3 separate regions of the Homo sapiens genome follow, and all the other regions are linked to region 3. The links are contacts of gene promoters, found by promoter capture Hi-C in blood cells and fetal thymus (Javierre and others, 2016). All regions are on one chromosome and are shown on one strand. The core of a region is centred on a gene start or on the middle of the fragment in contact, and the rest is flanking DNA. Distances in the headings are between cores, read along the strand shown. Region 1 overlaps LOC107986770 (a long non-coding RNA gene). Region 2 overlaps LOC107986770 (a long non-coding RNA gene). Region 3 holds the start of ETV1 (ETS variant transcription factor 1).

Region 1 (4,517 bases), core at 2,010-4,509, 460 kb before region 3:
TTTGTTTGTTTTGTGAGATAAATCCTCTTCTCAAAAAAGCCAATGGTGTTATTAATTACACAAAGGAAGAGGCAACTGAGGTGGGATCATGCTCAGCTGAAATTGTTAAATGAATACGAGCTCTCATACACAAAACTTCCCCAGTGGTTAACTAAGCTGTCACCATTTTAGTGCATCTGAGGAAATGTGCTCCGAGATTTATGTTAGTGTTGGCAAAGAAATGAACTAATTTTAATTCTCTCACCTCCTAAATTTGACATCAGTCCAGAAACTTTGCAACTAAATTTATGTACGTTTGCTGCACAGCAAATACTTACATTAAGAATGTCACATGGGAAGACAGCAGTCTACCTGGTATAAGTGCAAGAAAGTGAAATTTAGAAAAAACCTTATTTTTACTTTTAAAAATGTTCAAGTCTTTCAAAAGTTCTCATTCCTAGAAGGTCATAAAAGGACTCACAGAAGATTTGTTTTTTCTGGTTGCCCAACTGGTTACAAAACTAGATTACTTCCTTCTACTTCTGCCAAAATAAATGTTATTAAAATACTATATTCCTCATCTGCCAGTCAGAATCAAAGATCCATGAAAGATGATGTTTATTTGTACATGTGCACCTTTCCCACCATAGAACACACATTAAATGCAACACTCAAGATAGTTTCAGCTGCTTTGTGAAGCTGGTTTTCTTACATCTTCTTTCTCAATCATAATATGGAAAATATTATTGCCTGTCCTAAAATGAAAATTCTTTTTCTCAGCAATTTATTTGGAGTAAATTTTTCTTCTGCAGATGACCAAATATTTATTTGTCATGGTGATAATAAAGGTTTGATTAATTGCTGATTTTGGAAATAGTAAAAGACTTAAAAATGTCAATTTTCAGCAGGGTGCGGTGGCTCACCCCTGTAACCCCAGCACTTTGGAAGGCTGAGGTGGGCGGATCACAAGGTCAGGAGTTTGAGACCAGCCTGGCCAATGTGGTGAAACCCCGTCTCTACTAAAAATACAAAAATTAGCCGGGCGTGGTGGCAACGCACCTGTAGTCCCAGCTACTCAGGAGGCTGAGGCAGGAGAATTGCTTGAACCCGGGAGGCGGAGGTTGCAGTGAGCTGAGATCGCGCCACTGCACTCCAGCCTGGGTGACAGAGTGAGACTCCATCTCAGGAGGAAAAAAAAAAAAAAAAAATCTCAATTTGCTTGGAGACTGTTGCTTCAAAGAGGAGGATTCATACTGGGAACAAGGAAAAGATCCAACTGATTCTGTACTGAAAAGATGGATATGATCAAGTAGGTTTCCAGTGAGGAAGAAAAGATTAGTGCTCTGTAGTTTGGTGCTGTAAAAAAGCCCCAATTCACATAACACTAGTTTAAGTAATTTTAAGTAGCTAGGTTTTAAAAGTATGTTTTAAATTGTAATTGTAAAAAAAAAGTTTTTGAAATATTTGATAATGTTAAACTGGTGACCCAATATACTACTATGGTTTGAAAACGAAACAAAGCAAAAGCAAACAAGCACAGTCTATCTCTGTTTTTATTGCTTCTATCTTTTGGATTATGCCAAAAATTGATTTTGCCAATAGAGGGCAGTAGTCAAACTAGGATAGGCTGCATCTATCATTTCTGCAACCTCTAATGAGGTAAAAGGACACATAGAATCCTCATCTGCTTTTATGGATATTGCTGTGTAATTGCAGTGTAATTATGGCCCACAACAGCTTCAGAAAATTATCTTTCAAGAAAACAGCTGGTTCTCTTTCACAAACCGAGATGAAAGCTAGTCAATTACAAAAAAAAAAAAAAAAAAAAAGTCCAAAGAAAATATTCCCACAATATATGCTGATATAATAAACAAATGACAAAAAAAGAAATATCATAAAAATTTTAAATGTATAAATCACAGCTACTGATATGAAAAATAACACAAGGTACAAACATAAGAAAATTAGAAAGGTAGGAGATACTTCTGACACATTGTTTCATATTACAATCTAAATGGACTTCTTAGAAAGATTTTCAAATATGTTTTTTCATTTTTTGTTTTCATTTATTTGTATAATTATGTAAATGCATGGATGTATACTTTATGAAATACATGCACAAACATGCAAAGAGATTTAAAGTATAAGATTTTTTAAGCCAGTGCTCAGGAAAAATTTTAAAAATGACTAAATTTGGGCACTTACTCTAAATTTATAATTGTATTAAGCTTTGTGATATGTCAGTAAGCCAATACATGAGTGTCTCATTCTATAAAAACTCTATATACAAAAATTTGAAGGTTCTAAAATCATTAACAGAACGATCAATTATAGATAATCCATTTTGACAAATGGTTTATTTCAATGTTACTTTAAAAGTCAAGCCTTTTAGAATGGCATAGAGGTGTCTGGATTTATGAAAAAATGAAATTCCCAAGGTCAGAAACATAAATACTAGCATTTAAATTTTCTCATCTTCCACCTGATTGATATTTTCAGGCAGTCAGTTATATTTAAACTCTTGGTATGAAGAATAAGAATTGGTGTTTTCTTGACTCACTGAATGGCATGTCATGGCAGTTCCATGTCATTGACGGCCAAGTACCTCTTATGACCCTTACATTCAGAAATTATTTTAATTAACAACAAACATTAACTGAAGGTATATTTTTTAACCTCAGGGGAATTGGTCCCTGAGTGGTTAAAATAGAAACAAATAAGTACAATATATAAAATTATAAATACAAATATGTATGCATATGTATATAGTATATCTATATGTATATATGGCATGCACCTGTATTAAAATAGATACAGAGAGAGGAAATCAAATAATAATTGTATTCTAAGTTTATTTTTTTTTGTTTTTAATTGCACAAAGTAAGTTGAGAACCTACCAGTAATACTCAGTGGTTCTCAAGTGTGGATCCTGGACCATTAACATCATTTACCCCTGGGAACTTGTTAGTTCCTAGTCTGTCTCCATCCCCCCCACCGCCTGAATCAAAATTTCTGACAATGGTCTCCAGCAATCTGTGTTTAAACCAGCCTCCATGTGATTCTGATGCACGTTAAAGTCTAACAACCACTTCTCTGAGTAAATATAAGTTATTTTCATAAGTATTATAATTTGGACACTATGAATTCCTGATTTCATCCTGGCTCCAGGCTTCTTTTTGGGCAAGTTCTGAATTTGGGTATAGTTAAAATGTTTTTATCAGATAGGTTGGTTCTTTATTACTATTGACCAGATCTTTCCAAAACTGGGTTTGTAATCGAGTCTTTACAGAAGCGTTCTTACATTAGCTATGGAATCTAGGCCTCATTAGTTCTTAATAATAATCTAGCATTCGGAAAATTAGAAGACTTGAAACCAAAAAGGTTAAAAAAATTTACCAAATATTAAAAGGGAGTCTGAGAATAAACTCGAGTTTAAAATCCAAATCTTCTAACTTCTATTTGGAATTTTAATCTTAGTAGATTGGAAGCTGTGGATTTTAACTAATTTTCTGTATCAGTGATAAGATAGCTGTCAAATAACTCATAACAGACATTTGTATTCTAAACACATTTTCAAACTTGCTGAGTATTTCACAGAATACATTTTTCAGGCTGAGTACTTCCACGTTTCCCTGTCGTTGTCTGCATGTGAGAATAGTTTCTCCCAAAGTCAAAATTAGGTCTTTTTTTCGCATTTGAGATGCCCAATAGCTGTGGCAGAGGTGCACCCTTTACATATTTTCCGACATTAGGAAGCAAAGGATGCTTAAGCATCAAGTGCAGATCTTTCCTGCCTGTCTGCTTGCTTATTTCTTCTAAGAGCTGTTGTTCACCAACACGTGTTGCTGTCCTCAGCTGCTAGCCAGGAGAACGTGAAATTTAAGACCACTTGTTAACTTTTCTCAGTTACTAGCAGATCCTTTGGAGACAATTATAATTGTATGATTTCCCTCTGCCTAATTAACTGCATCCCTAGTATAAACTTGTTGAATTCAAGTATTCGTCTTTTCTGTTTAATTTATTTTTTATTTACTTATTTATTTTTGTCCTCAGAGCCTGGCACATTGATAGGTGCCTAACGTTAGTGTCAAATAAATAAAACAATTGAATGAGAAAAAAAAAGATACTCAGTTTTGCAGAATTAACTCTATAATGAAAAGATGTTTTTCACATAAAATGTACACATGCTTTGTGATAATATAATAAAATAAAGATGCATCTGTGCATATTATTATGTGTTTATAACAAAATTATCTCAATGCTTGTGACTGCATCCACAGTGCTAAATGTTTATTTGCTATTATCAGTGAAACCTGTGTTGCTATGGACCACATAAGCTTTATAGGAAATAAAGGGCCATGATAAAATTAACAGTTAGTGTTGTTTACCTCCTAAATTTCAATTGCCAACCGCTGACTGCTAGTTGTTTTTTGTATGTATGAACTATTTCTTCAGCATAGCATATGATGTAAATTTTTCTTCTCTTTTGTCTGACTTCCGGTATACAAGATCCTGTATGTTCATAATATGGCTGCAAA
Region 2 (4,385 bases), core at 571-3,070, 300 kb before region 3:
TCCTGTGAGTCACTTGTCCTTAATAAACTCCCTTTCATATATGCATCTATCCTATTAGTTCTGTTTCTCTAGAGAACCCTAACTAATACGCAATCCCCGTAGGAGAGTTCTGTAGAAATAGAGATGAAAAGGGCAAGGCTAAAGTCTTTCCTTGCATACATGAGACATACTTGGGTAGCATTTCTGTAGAGCCCAGTAATCACTTGTGTTGCTTGGTTTACTCTGACATGAATTTGGAAGCTTGCACTCTCAGTTTTAAAGTGGATGTGAAGTACAGAGATGAATGGTTCTTTTTGAACTGAATGGCTTTAAAGATATCTTTGCACAGGATAAACTCATCAGGAGTGGCAAGTGATAAATGAGGGTTATAAAAATTTAGGAATCTTTTACTTATCCTAATTGATGGCTCTCACAAGAGGATTCACAACTTTTTTGTTAGTTGCTCTTTACTTTCTCCAATGTCTGAAGTCTTAAAACAGCAGAGAGTTTGAGGGGTTTTCGTAAAGTTAATTAATGTTAATTGTGTCATGAATTACTTTAAGGAGTCTGTTGAGTGATGGACCCAGAGAAGAGGGTCGATACCATTTAATGTTCAATAGGGGATAATGCTGGTCTTTGGCACCGTTTTACGATCATTAGGGCCATGCTAAAGCTTGTCAGGAACAGCTCTAAAGATCAGTTGCTCATGGCAATTAAAACAATTGAAAATGACCTGGTATTACATTATACATGATGCAACACTGCTCCCAGTATGAACAAACTTTCATTCCATTAGTGATTTTCAATTTCATACCAAGCACTGCAATTTATTTTTCTTAGTTACCTAACTATGGCTGTCTCTGTACTTCTAGCAGGATATTATTAATATTTATCCTATTATCTCATACAACATTTCATACTTAAAGCACTTTGCAATCTTAACTAATTAATCTTTATATCCTGCCTAAAAGGATGGTAAAATACCCTTTTAGAGTTAGGGAAACTGGGTTGAGAGTGGTTAAGAATTGGCCATCAAGAAAATGATCTGATGGGTTCGAAGGGCTACATTTGGGCCTTTTTTCTCTCCCCTTGCAACGAAAATTAATGAACCTTTGTCTTGAAAGATCATACCCTGAAGTATAAATGGCCTCTTACCCCCTAAGAGAGGCAAATGGAATTATTTTTAATAGAATCTATTCTCCAAGCAAAAAAGAATTTAAAAAATTTGTCACCAATAAATACAGAGAATAGAAAGAGGTTTAGTGATTTTTTTTCATGTTAAAACTGTTACCTATTTTGAGGAACTAGAGAACTAAATTTTATTCAAAGTACATAAAGTATATACAAATTTTTCAAAAACAATATGTTTTAGAGATATAATAATAGAAAGAATACCTAATAAATATTAGACAGATATCAGGGATGGTAAGAACATGACTAAGCTGTAACAATGAACTGGTAAATTTTATATTTCCTCTAATTTGCTGATCAGGCAACTGAAGCTTGGAGAGTTTGACTTACTTATGAATACATATTTGATAAACAACAATGCTTAAACCAAAACACAAGTCTGTCTGAATCAGAAGTCCTTAGTTTTTAGGTTACAAAAATACCACTTCCCTGGTAGTGAACAGAAACTAACTAATTTCCAATTTACAAATCCCGTACTTGACACAACAATGATCTGTTTTATTCTGATGCATTGTCTTATTAGACTCATTACTAAAGACCACTCTGCATGCCCCAAATGTGCTGTCTTTCCTTCACCACTCCCACCCCTCAGCAGAGTTTGTGCCCCCAACCCAACCAAAACTTCTACCTTCTGCCTCCCTGCATCCCTTCCTCTCCTCAGGGGTCATGAAAGAACTGATGTCACAGCCCCCGCTCCTACAAATCTGATTCTTTCACTATCAAACGAGGCCTTACCCTAATCTGAATAAGTTTGATACCTTCTGCCCATACTTTTCTCTTACTTTTATGGAGAAAGGTGTCCACATTTTAAACAATGGATTTAAATACCATTTTGAAACTAACCTTGTTATGAACCGAAGACACACACATATAACTGTCTTTTTCTTTTGACTTCTTTTTCTTCTTCCTCTTGTCCTCCCCATGCCCTCATCTCCTCCTCCCAACCTGTTCCTCATTCTCTTTCTCTTCATCTTCCTTATCACATAGTTCTAAGCTTTTAATGCATGTTGGAATAATAGTAAATGTATTTTATATAGTCAGAGATATTAGTTTAAATCAATTTTGTCTGGGTGACTGAAATGTATTCTAAAATGATTTCATTTTATATCCATTTTGGAAATGCTAAATTATGTGCAGTGGACATGGAAAGGAATGTATTGATACTATAGGGATTTGTCATGGGAAACCACTGTGCTAACAACAAATATGTTTACAAGATACATATTTAACTCAGGTGAAAGTGAGACAACAAAAGAAAACTAATAAACCAATAGAAACTGCTTCTACAGAGGATGATTTATGTTACCTAAAGATCTCTATTCCACCTGGATTCAGTTATTTAGAAATTATGACAAAACCGAACGATTCTGCAAGATAAAGCATTGAAAATTTTGAGGTAATGGGGAAAATCCAAATGGATAGGGGAAAATTCATAGGGATAGGGGAAAACCAGCAAGGTTGGGTGGTATATAGAAACAGTAAAAACACTGCATAAGTACATAAATGATCCTTATGGCTATTAACCAAGGAGGAATTGCAAAGAATAAAAATATAGGTTAGAGTATCTATATGAAATCCTGCGCATTGTAAGATATTAAAATCTATAAAGACTACAAAAATAAATAAAAATCTTGTTCTGACTTTTTTTCCTATTCATCAAAGTTCATTTTGGCTACACCTATGAAAGGTCAAAAATAAAAAGTAAGAGGTAAAAAATGTAACCAATAATACAAATGTTTTGAAACATACACTTTACTCATATGCATTAAACTGTACTTTTTCAGTCTTCTCTGTTCTTTTCTGATAATGCAATTCTGTTTGTCTTACTTGTTACTCGAATTTTTTTCACCTGTGGAATACTGTTTGCACATTTATTTTTGTGATTTTTTAGCAAGAAAGAAGGGAAAGCTGATGAGTCATTTTCAACTTTTTTATTCTAAAAAAATTGGAGAAATTAACCTCTTATTGAGACCTACAATGTGCATAACCTGTGTGACAAGCTCAAAGAAGGATTTCAATCAAGTAAGGCTATGGTTAAGCTTGTTAACCAGCTTCATGCTTATTATCTAATCAAGACAGTGACACATGAAAACATAAAACTGTAAAGAATAATTTTGGTAAATAAGTGTCCCAAATGAATAAATATTACAATCAGGGACTACTGTAGAAATCCTGAAGAGGCAACATTACTTTCAACAGTCATGCCACACGTACATTTATACTTTTAAGTTGAATTTAAGAAAAAATAACAATTTAAATGTGTTTTTAGTTTGGTGCCATTGGGGTAGTGATCCAACTTTTAGAATCACAGTTTATATACTTTCTGGGAGCAAATATAAACATATTATCATATCCATGTCCAGTTAAATGATAAGGAAAGTCGTGGGTCTGATGTGAATGGAAGATATACAATTTGGGGATTCACATTTACTCTCTCCATCTCTTAGGCTTGTGCAGCAAGTATGCACCACAGCATTCTAAAACCTGTGATAGCTACTCCATAGTATAACTTGGGTGAGTCTTGTGTAAAACCAGTGCATTATGGCTGTCTTAATATTAGAGTAACTATGTCAAAGTGATTTTTCCTATGTTGTGGATATCTAATGATAGTGACAGGAAGTAATTGTGAAAAGCGAGAGCTCAGACTGGTTTGTGGTTTAGGTTACTTTTTGGATATTAGTGGACAATATTTGGCATAAGACACTATATTATTGAGCCTGAATTATTAAATCTAATATACAGTACAGTGTGACTCTGGTTTTTAGTGGAGCTGAGGTTGGATGTTGCTTTCCTGGGGACACTGTTGACATATAAAAAGACATGTACACATCCCATACATAATGCTCTTTCAGCACATCATACAAAGAAGACATTGTTTGAGACTTTTAACACCACCAAAAATCATGCCAGCTAAAGAAAAAGGAAATAAATCCCAAAAGCCTTCTCTTTTTCAAAATCTTCTAGTTTCCATTTTATATGAAATTATTCCTATATTCTTTCTATGAGTATTCTTCCATTCAAATACATTTTATAATGTATATTAAAATATTAAGCTAATGTTCTCTATAAACGGATTTATATTTGACATCCTACAGTGTACTGAAATACTAGCTTTCTGCTGTTAAATATGTTGCTTCTTATAAAGCTCTGCTTTTTTTGTGGAAAGAACCAAATAGTTTAAAAAATTATGTCACAGAATAGCATGTAAATGACTG
Region 3 (3,991 bases), core at 323-2,822:
TCATGAGCCAGATCTCTGTTAATGAATTTTCTTTTCCTGACATTTGTTGGTTTCTCGTTACAATTTCTCCCACGCTGACTCTACAAAGGGAAAGATAAAATCCTTTAAAAGAATGTAAACCTCAGATCACACACACGCACACGCGCGCGCACACACACACACACAGACATGCATACATAAGTCTAATGGATCTTCTCTGAATAGAAAAATAGAAGTCCATAGTATCAACTCTAATATTCATTTTCTCACTTATTTGACAGTGAAAGCTTATGTTAAGCAGGCAGGGAGAGTTGCTTCCCAGTGCCGATCTTAGCACATTACTATTTATCAATCATATATTCATGGTATCTCAGCATCAAAACAACCTGAAGCATTTACACTTAAAGTTGTTTTTAGGCTGGTTCAATGCTAGATTAAAACAGTGGGTTTTATTCTCTCTTGGACAGCCCCTCCTCCCCACCCCACCCCCACAAAAAAAAAAAGCAAAAAGAGTAGAGAAATGAAAAAAAAAAAAAAGAGAAAATGAGAAAAAAAAAAGAAACAAAAACACCCCATATAAACAAAAAGTGTCAGCATTTGTCTCAACTTCATTCTTTTCAATGTGGCAGACAAACCCAGCCAAAAACTTTGAGTGCAGCAGCTGCTGCTGCCCTCCATCTCCTCTTCCACTCATGTTGGGCACTTTAATCAGAAAAAGGGGTCTTAAAAACAAAACTATGCCTTATCCAAATCACTGAAAGGTAAGCTCATTTTGAAGACTGGGCTTCTAGAAGCAGAGTCGCCCTACAGTGGCAACAAAGCAGATAAGTATCTGCAATCCCAACCCCCGTGCCCCCTCCCTTCTCATTTTCTCCCTCTCCCCACCCCCGACGGAGTCAAGTTTATAAACAGCAACTTTCAAACTGATCACTCACATTGGTGACCATGTAAGGCACTTGCTGGTCATAAAATCCATCCATGCTGCTGCTCTTCGCAAATCTCAGCTCAGTATTTTATATTTTGAGCATTTAGCTGGAGATTTCCTCAGGATCTGGACTTCTATCAACCTAGAGGGGAACAAGATGGCTTTTAGGCTTAAAAAAAAATCATGAATGAAGCTCTTGAATTTGCATAGCTAATTACCCTCCGACAGTCCCATTCACAAAAATAACCCTCCCTACACCGCCTCCTTCACCTGGATCCAAAGAGAGCCAACAGAGTTCACAATTTACATATTTTCGGTAGTAGCAAAAATCCGAACAAGAGGCGATGTATTTATTTACACTCTCGATGTTTCCCTGCGCGGTCGGTGTACCCCGGGCAGCTCTGATTCGCAAACGTGTGCAAAACTAGCAATGGCGATCAACGAGACTTGCTTTGCACCTAACGGGACTAAAGAGACGGAGACACCTCTTTCATCAGGATAGTTTTTGCGACCCACAACCATGCAATTATCTGGAGAGACATAAAAAGTTGTTGGAAAGACCCACCTGAAGGCCACGCTAGGCGAAAGGCTGCAAAAACTTCCCTCCAAATTTAATAAAAACATTAATTATAGCCCAGCACTTCCCCCTTGGAAGCCGAAAGCGCCTCTGACAGAGCTCAATTCGGTGGTTTTTCCTCTACTTCTCCTCCAGGGGCCTCCAATCCAAACTGATGGATCGCTGCCTCCCATTGGCTCCGCGTCTCTTTCACAAGATCAGATTTCGGGCTGTCAATCAGGCGGCTTGCTGCCCCTTCCCGCGGGTCTCCCTCGCCCCTCTGCCCTAGGGGGTGCTCGGCCGGTAGGCGCTGGGTCCTCAGCCTGGAAGCGCCACGGAGAGACTCGATTTCCTCTGTAACCCGCTGCTTATTGTTAAGGCGCCTGGGGATACTGAAACCGTGTGTTTCGAGTCGCCAGTTCCCATTATTGGGGTGTTAGGTCCACTATTGGGCTGGTTTCCTTAAAGTACTGTTGTGCGGTTCTGGTATACCCTTAGAGCCGCGATCCACAAAGCCCGTACCGCCTTATTCAGCTGCCCTCCCCTCAGGATCTCCAACCTCTCTACTCTTGCCCTGACTAGGAGCTCACCTCGCTCTCTATCCTCATTCCCACTCAGCTTTTGGCCCAATTTATTTTCCCGTTTTTCAAAACCCACCATCACCATTATGGTTTATCGAAACATTTTTTAAACAGTCATCCTCAACTAAAATTAGATCCTATCGTTCGTGGGACAGAAACATAAAGAATCTATAAGGAAGGCACCTAGGAGATGCAGAATTGCTGATTAGCAGAGGTTGTGATGGGAGGACAACAGAGCAAGCTAGGTGAAAAAGTATAAGTCAAAATGGTCCCTACGTGTGCACTGGGAAAAGGTACTTCCAGTCCACTGTGGCTGTGGGGAGGAGGAGGGAGTGCTTGGGGTTGCTCGTATATCCTAGAACCCGCACGTTTCCTGAGCTTTTGTTATGTATACACGGAGGCGGAGGGTGTCACTTACTGTACTTGACGCTTTCACTTCCTCTCCAGCTTTTAAACAGCCAGAGCCCAGGGTTGGGGGCGAGCGGTGAGATGGCTCGGGTTTCAAGGACAATAACTAGGACGTTAAGCAGTGAGGGCTGCATCTCTGAAGCCACTTGCCCTGATCCTCCTATGGGACTCAGAACAGTAAAGCGTCACTTTAAGGAGCCAGTGTCCAACAGCGGACGGGAGGCCGCGGGGATAGGACCAGGGACTCAATGCTGTTGAAATTCATTTGTGACCAGAACTAGTGACCAAAAGACGTTTCCGGCAGCTGTTCCGCCCGTTAGGAAACGTGCTGCAGTTCTCAATTTCTATTTGAAAGTTTCCTTCCTTAAATAGAACGTTATGGAGACACATTAAAATGGAGTGTAAGAGCGCACAGCACTCAACCCCGGACCTGGGCAGGAGAAAGATCTACTTAAAAAAGAAGCAAACAAACAAACAATCAACACTTATTACTGGGAAAACAACCAATAACTATGGACAGCAAAGACAGACCCCGCGCATTCCCGGAAACTACTAAATCGGAGTTCACAACGCGCGCACCTATAAGCATTTTGAGCGGGAACTGCATTTTAACCCCGGCCAAGGAGAGATTCCAGGAAGCGCCTGGGCCCCGAGGCTGAACAGTGAAGCTCATGGGTACTATCTGAGGGTGCAACCAAGCAGGGGGTCAATAACAAGGGTCCTCCACCACCCTGCACTCCTGGAATAACCCAGCGCCTGTAATCTGAGCAACAGTTTCCAAAGACCTTCTCTGCAGCCCGAGCCTGACGGGTATCCAGGGTAACCGCGAGGGGGCGGAGCTTCGGGTTAGGTCCCGGCGAGGTTCTTCCCGCAGCCAATAACGAGCCGTAAATCCCCAGCCCATTGTTGTTTATTGCTGACCCCTCAGCGCTCCGCTAGGAGATTGGCCGCTTTAGGGAAGGGGGCGGAGTCCCGCCCGCCCCAACAGCCACCTTTCGTCTCCATTCACAAAATTCCGGCCCTTCTTGGTCACGTGGTTGGGGGCGTGGAGGGGTAGAGGAAATGACACAACAAAGGCCCAAGTATCCCAAACCACAAAACTTTTTTCAGCTCGCTGCCTCCTCTTTGTCCTGTCCCTGAAACAGATACTAGATGAGGAAAAAGAGGTTGGGGTCTGGGAGTAATAACAAGAGAGAAAAAAATTAAGACCGAAATTAAAGGAAGGCTCACGTGGGGATAATTCCGGCGTGCACTGCTTAGACAGCTTTTGCACTAGAGGAAAGAAAGAATTGAGAGTGGGGAGAAAGTCTTAAGGACTGGGAACTTTTGCTTGCTGCTTCAAGTCATTGCTTTTAAAGGTGCAAACTGTTCGACTGTAGATGGATTTCAGTTTTTTCACTTAACATTCTGTAATTTTCATTTCTACCTTTTTTTGTATCCCACAGTGTCTTGTTAGTTTTTTAAAGCTTTTATGTATTATTAGTATTATATATTTTTAGGAATATTGATGGTTTTCGCTGGCTGATAGCTTTAGTTTCCATT

What was found. The method cuts DNA at HindIII sites, captures the fragments that hold promoters and counts their contacts. A CHiCAGO score of 5 or more calls a contact.
Region 1: a fragment that was not itself captured here is called in contact with the fragment with the promoter of ETV1 in region 3 in 1 of 17 cell types (endothelial precursors); the score reaches 5.1 in endothelial precursors.
Region 2: a contact is called between a fragment that was not itself captured here and the fragment with the promoter of ETV1 in region 3, in 1 of 17 cell types (total CD8 T cells). The highest score is 5.2, in total CD8 T cells.

The regions. Positions count from the first base shown.
Region 1 is chr7:13,523,711-13,528,227 of GRCh38, forward strand. The region is part of intron 2 of LOC107986770 (a long non-coding RNA gene); the gene reads left to right. Among named protein-coding and RNA genes, the nearest start is that of ETV1, 460 kb to the right of the region's middle. The HindIII fragment of the contact is 2,109 bases long and covers 2,206-4,314 here.
Region 2 is chr7:13,692,102-13,696,486 of GRCh38, forward strand. The region is part of intron 2 of LOC107986770 (a long non-coding RNA gene); the gene reads left to right. Among named protein-coding and RNA genes, the nearest start is that of ETV1, 300 kb to the right of the region's middle. The HindIII fragment of the contact is 683 bases long and covers 1,480-2,162 here.
Region 3 is chr7:13,988,094-13,992,084 of GRCh38, forward strand. ETV1 (ETS variant transcription factor 1) reads right to left here and starts at 1,573. Exons shown (of 14, transcript NM_004956.5): 1 at 1,470-1,573; 2 at 1,175-1,371; 3 at 915-1,046; 4 at 1-80. The coding sequence starts at 959. RefSeq lists an enhancer at 3,093-3,594. The HindIII fragment of the contact is 3,649 bases long and covers 265-3,913 here.